Linked DNA regions of Homo sapiens: region 1 is linked to region 2. Evidence: promoter capture Hi-C in human tissues and cell types (Jung and others, 2019). All regions are on one chromosome and are shown on one strand. Each heading gives the region's core, a stretch centred on a gene start or on the middle of the fragment in contact. The rest is flanking DNA. Distances are from core to core; before and after follow the strand shown.

Region 1 (3,170 bases), core at 594-3,093, 660 kb before region 2:
AGGGATGTTTTCTGGAAGGGGAGATGCTAAGGTGAGGCAAGAGAGGTGCCTGGGGCACAAAAACTGACAGTAGCCAGCCCTGCACTTGCAGGAGCCTAAGAGTGAGGGTCTCCTTACATTTCACACCCAGGGCAGCACTCTTGCCTTACCTCAGCAGGCCCTGAAAGTGGTGGATGATGCAGGTGGAGGGTACTTGGCATGGTGCATGGCGCACAATGGGAACCTGCAAAGGGCATTCCCAACCCCCTGGGAAGCCCTGAGCCTCCTGCCTCATGAACCAGGCCAGACCGTCATCAGGCACTGTGAGTGCCTGGAGTTGATGGCAGCCATGGCTCCTTTCACAGTGCGCTGCCGGCTCTGGGGATGCTGTTTGGCTGTGTCCTTCAGCCTGAAAAATAGCTCTGAGTGATAAGCCCTCCTGCCCGATTTCTTGCAGTTGACAAACAATGCTGCCTTGAAAACAGCTAATTTCGAAAGGAGAGAATTATACAGGGATGTGTTTCCTCCCTCAGAGCATTCTGGGAAAAGCCATGGCACCACTGCTTACCTAACAGGTTGAGGCAACAGGGAATACAGGTGGGGGGCTTGGGGGAATGGCTGTGATCAGTGCTGCCAATTCCCAGCTGCCGGGCTGCACTCCACCCCAAACTGCACACCCAGTACGTGGTGCTGTGCCCCAGAGAAAGTGCCCACATAACACCACAGACACCTTTCCCCATCCATTTGGCCCATATCTCTGGAGTGTGAGCTCTGCGTCAGGCAGTGGGCTAGGCGCAGAAACAGAATGGTACGGCCCTCGTCCCTGGGCAGCTCACAGACGAGACAGGCACTTAAATCAAGGCAGCACATGATTCACTGCTATGAGGGAGAGACAGACAGGTGCGTCACACAGGCTCTCCCCTGCAAGAGTCTAAACTCCTCAAAGCAAACACCTACTCTCTACATCTGTGCATGAGTAACGAGAGCTGAGGGCACAATAGACGGCCAACAAAAATCTGTCAATTAAAAATGCAGTGAGCAACAATGCAAGGGACTCCAAATTTAGAAACCACAATGCAAACAGTCACCAGATAAAGAATCATTTATAAAAAGAACCTTTACAAGTTTCAAGTACTTGAGATGTGGTCCCTGTAAATCCCCACCACCCTCACATGGTGTTTAAAAACAAAAGAGATACTGGTGGCATCCACAGCCTTCCAGAGCCTGGAAACTGGGAAATAAAGTTGCCCTTCCTGGTGGGGAGTCAAGGCCATGGTGAGATTTAGTGAAAATTCATACAAATTGTCTTGCTGTGAGACAAGGAATTAGCCCTTCTGGGGAGAGCTGTGCCTCCTTAAGGGCTTTAAAACAAAAACAAAAAACTGGGGTCAGAATAGTGGTAGCAACCAAGACACTCTGGAGGTGACTGTGGCTCCAAAGCACGGCGGGGAGACCAGCGGGTGGGGAATGACCTTCTGGCTGGGTTGGGTCCAAGCCTGCTTATTTCCTAGGACTCCGTGCAGGTCATTCCAGCTACGAGCTTTGGGCACATTTCCAAAGCTGATATCTTTGTGGCGGCTTGGGAAAGAGGCCAGGCTCTTGGGCCTCCTCTGCCAAAACAAGGTTGTAAAATGAGTCTGCTGGTTTCATACTGGGATGAGAAGAGGAGCGTGCAGGACGTAAAAAAAAAAAACAAAAAAAAATTAAAACTCTGAAGAACGTTGAAGAATTGAGCAATTACAAACATACGAATGGATGCATTAGGAATGACAGTCATAATTATTCCCTGAATTTATACAACCTAGACCACTTTGCATTTCACACATATTATCTCATTAATTCTCATTTTAATAGTTTAAAATTGAGTTTGTGTGCATGTGAGTTTTCCTGGAAGCTTCATAACCATGGTGGGTGATTTTCACAGGACCACGGAAGCCTTTGCAGAGGTTTTATAAAGATTAGTCCTAATTCATGAAGCAAACAAACATCACAGAGGGAAAAACATTAACCTACTGCTCCCTGTCCCCAGAAATCCATGTTGCCCCTCGGGGTTCCCGCAGGCTCTGCTTGGACTTGCCTTCCCCAAGACCCCAACTCCCATGCCAGGGCTGTGCATCTGCTTCTCACATCCTCAGGAACCCCAGCAAGACCCACGCCTTGTCATTTATTTCTGAGCCTCTGTGGCCTAGTCCAATGCTCGTTAAATCTACACATTAATAGGTAATAAGTGAGTGAACACAAATGTGATGAATGCTGTGGTGAGTGAACACTAATGTAATGAATGCTGTGGTATAAGTGAGTGGACACTAACATTGTGAATGCTGTGGTGTAACAAGAAATCTACTTGTGATCTTTTTCCAGTTCTTGTCTTAGAGCTCCTAAGACCCTTGAAAATTTCTGAGTGATAGGTGCATCTTTTCTTTTTCATAATCAGCCCCTTTCCATGACACCTGAATTTATGCTAATGAAGGACTTCTAGGGCCCCTAGATCTTCTCAGGATGGGGCTGGTCCCCAGATAGGCCAAATGAGTTGAACTCTCAGCCCCTTGAAGACCTCTGGGAAGGAGTAGGGGGCAGGCTGGAAACTAGGCTCTGTAAAAACTCTTCAGCAACAAGATTTGATGAACTTCTGGGTTGCTGAACCCTTGGAGGTGCTGAGAGGGGGGCACACCCAGAAAGGGCATGGAGGCTCCACCCCAAACCTTACCTTGTGACTCTCCTCCTCTGGCTGTCCATCTGTGTCCATGATGACATCCTTTATAATAAAATGGTAAACATGCTTCCGTGAGTTCTGTGAGCCATCCTAGCAAATTAAGCAAACCCAAGGGAGTGGTGGGAATCCCAACTTACAGCTGATGGGTCAGACGCATAGATGGCAACTTACTACTTGTAATTGGTATCTGAAGTGGGGGCAGCCTTCTGAGACTGAGCCCTTAGACTGTGGGATCTGAGTCTAACTCCAGGTAGAAGGAGTCAGCATAGAATTAAAATACAGGACACCCAGTTGGTGTCTGCTGGAGAATTGCTCGGTGTGTGGGAGGACACCCATGCATCTGGCCACCGAAGTGGTCTGCATTGAGTGTGAGAGTAGAGGAAAAGAGAACTTTGATTTTTCCTTGACAAATGCCCTTGCCATATTTTCTTCGTTAGGCAGTTTTTTTTACCTTTGAGGTGCTTAAGCCACACAGTCT
Region 2 (3,060 bases), core at 320-2,819:
CCTGGCAGGGTCTTACATTCGGGGGTCCAAAGTGGTTTCTAAGGGCACATGGGATTTCCTAGGAAAAGCTCCTGCCATGACAGAAGGAGCTGGCAACTGCCTCTGTGGAGCCCCTAGAGAGGAACTTGAGGGAAAGGAGGAAAGTCCTATAGGACCCCCTTCTTCCCTTTGCCCCCAGCAGGAGACCTTAGAAAACAAGGGCTTGATAGATGAGCCACAGTGAGCCAGGGGGTGGGAGTGACTCCTGGGCCATAGACGAGGAAACTGAAAGGCAGGCACTGGAGGCAAGAAGGGCTGGCCCCGGGCACCCGCTGGCGAGGACAGCCTTGGAGAGGGCCTGCAGCTCCTCCCCTCTGAGCTGTGCTGCGCTGGCCGCCTGGACCAGGGTGGCTGCTGGAGAGTGTTTTCCCTCTGGGTTTCCTTCTCCTTGGCTCCCAGGGAATCCTCTGGCGGTGCCTCCGGGAGGCTGGTAGCCGGGGAAGCAGGCACGTGAATCCACCGGGCTGCCCCACCCCAACCTGAGGTCAGAGCTGAGGCGTAGGGGCCGGGGTAGGGGCAGAGGTGCCGAAACGCACTAGCTGGGGACTCCCGGGGGAAGGAGATAGGAGAGACCCAAGGCGAGCCTTAGGACTCGCCCCTATGACTATGACTACGCGCTGCGTCCGAACCACATGTCCACCCCGCATTTGCCTTCGGGGACCAGACCGCGCTCCCTCAGATGGCTGGGGAGGGAGCAGACTCCGGGTGAAGGCTGGGGGAGGTACCGGGATGCCGAGTACGCCAGAGCAGGCGGGGGATGGGTTCCGGCTTCCTGCCGCCTCGGCATCTCGCTTTGCACCGGGCAAAGAAGGGGCCACGACCGGCGAAGAGCGCGTGGAGACACAGGGACCCGCGATCCAGGGGCAGGAACCCCGCCCCCTCCCGGAAACCTCCCGGGCCCTGAGTCGTGCCCGGCGCTCCCCACCCCACCCCACCCCCGCCGCCCCTGCCGTCACTCACGGCCGCTGCGGGCTGGCTAGCGTGTGCGCTCTCCGCGCCGCAGGCACCTGCTCGCTGGGCGCTGTGCGCTCACTTCTCCCTCGCGCACTGCAGACTCCCGGCGCTGCCGCCGCCACCCAGCGTAGTCTCCGGCTGGGCACAGCGTTCCGCCCTTCTCGCGGCCCCGGGCGCCCACCCATCCGTCATGGCCCAGGCCTGGGCCAAACAGCGGGGCAGCTGGTTGCCCAAACTGGGGTAAGGAGTTGAGGGCTGGGAGCTGCAGAGAGGACCGAGGGACACACGGGGAGCAGGGATGAGCGGCCGTCTCGAGCCGTGCAGACTGGGAAGAAGCCAGGGAGAGTTTGGGTGGGAGGACTCCCAACCCAAGCGGGTGCGGGGCGGGGCTGTACTCCAACCAGAAAGACGGTGGTCCCTCCGAGCGACCCCCGAGGAGAGAGGGGGAGCGCTCTGGGGCGGGGGCGGGGCGGGCTGTGGCAGGAGAGGGGAGGGCGGGGGCGATGCAGCGGTGGAGGCGGCTTGGCGCCCAGCCACTGACCGCCCCCTCCCTTCCCCTCCCCTCCCCCTCTCCCCGCCTCTCTCCGGCTCCGGGTCCGCCACGCCGGACCCGCTCTCCCCGCGCTGCGCTGGGTCGGACGCCAGGTCTGCGCGCCGCGGCTGAGCGCCCACTCGCCCTGCGGAAAGAGCCGCGGAGGAACCGGCGGGGGCGGCTGCGGGAGCCGAAGGAGGTGGCAATCGGGAGCAGAACCAGAAGGAGACAGGGAGGCAGAAGCTCGCGGCTCCGTGGCACGCACTCCCTCGGCCAGGGATGGGTCCCGGCGCGGCCCAGCCCCTGCCCGGCCCGCCGGGCAGAGACTGAACCGCGGATCCCCACCGTCCTGTGGACGACCGGACAGAGAGAGGCACTGACCGATCGCCAGCAGCCTCCCGGTGGGACCGCGTCTCCTGCACACCCCGCGCAGCGCCCCCCGCCGGAGCCGCACCGGGCAAGCCGGCGAGGGAGCGGGGCTGATTGGCGGCCGCCGGCGGCCAGGGGAGGGGGCGCCGCGCGGGGCCATGGCAGGCTCGGAGGCGTCCTAGCCCGAGCCGGAGCCGATCCGAGCCCACGCGGCCGCCGCCTCTCCGCTCCCGGGCCCCCGCCGCCACCGCGCCCCCCGCGGGAGATGGAACAGCGGAACCGGCTCGGTGCCCTCGGATACCTGCCGCCTCTGCTGCTGCATGCCCTGCTGCTCTTCGTGGCCGACGGTGAGCGCGGGAACTTTGCTGCCGCTGTGGACTCGGGGGGGTCTTTGCTGGGGCCGCCACCGAGAAGAAGAAGAAAGAGAACGAACCGGGAAGCTTCGCGGTCTCCAGCAATCCCGCTGTGCAGCCTGGGCCCGGAGGGGTAGGGAGAGGCGAGCGGCGAAGGGTCGCCGCAGCAGCAGCGCCGCGCCCGAGTCGTTCCCAGTCCCGCCGGGGCCCCGGCTGCGGAAAGGATGCCTGCGGGGAGCGGGAGTAGGCGCGCCCCAGCCAGGCTCTGGCGGTGCGGCCAGGGGCGGGGGAGAAGCACGAGTCGCCCCTGCCGCCCCGCCCCATCCGGAGGGAAGCAGTAGGCAGCCGATGGCCGGTCCCTGCCTCGGCCCTGCAGCCGCTTCCCCGAACTTTGCTAGCCCCTCCGGCCGTGCGCCAGGGAGCAGCTGCGGGGTGGGGGGCACAAGGCCAGCCAGCCAGAGACCGACTGCCTCGCTTTAGGTTGCCCCAGGCCCCCGACCTACAGCTGGTCACGCCTCTCTCTCTCTCCCCACCCCCAGCTGCATTCACAGAAGTCCCCAAAGATGTGACAGTACGGGAGGGAGACGACATCGAAATGCCCTGCGCGTTCCGGGCCAGCGGAGCCACCTCGTATTCGCTGGAGATTCAGTGGTGGTACCTCAAGGAGCCACCCCGGGAGCTGCTGCACGAGCTGGCGCTCAGCGTGCCGGGCGCCCGGAGCAAGGTAACCCGCCGCCCACGCGGTACCGGCGCGCGCCCGGCTCGCGCCCGGGGCGGCGAAGGCTAACCCAGGGAGGGAAGCAGCGGGCTTCA

What was found. The method cuts DNA at HindIII sites, captures the fragments that hold promoters and counts their contacts. A contact is called where the count stands out against the background at its distance.
Region 1: a contact is called between a fragment that was not itself captured here and the fragment with the promoter of VSTM2B in region 2, in 1 of the 25 tissues and cell types used here (dorsolateral prefrontal cortex).

The regions. Positions count from the first base shown.
Region 1 is chr19:28,863,339-28,866,508 of GRCh38, forward strand. No RefSeq gene overlaps it. Among named protein-coding and RNA genes, the nearest start is that of LINC00906, 100 kb to the right of the region's middle. The HindIII fragment of the contact is 9,131 bases long and covers 1-3,170 here.
Region 2 is chr19:29,524,425-29,527,484 of GRCh38, forward strand. VSTM2B (V-set and transmembrane domain containing 2B) reads left to right here and starts at 1,570. Exons shown (of 5, transcript NM_001146339.2): 1 at 1,570-2,241; 2 at 2,787-2,971. The coding sequence starts at 2,160. It overlaps VSTM2B-DT (VSTM2B divergent transcript), which reads right to left and starts at 1,326. Exons shown (of 10, transcript NR_040029.2): 1 at 1,000-1,326. The region is part of intron 1 of LOC124904683 (a long non-coding RNA gene); the gene reads right to left. The HindIII fragment of the contact is 17,468 bases long and covers 1-3,060 here.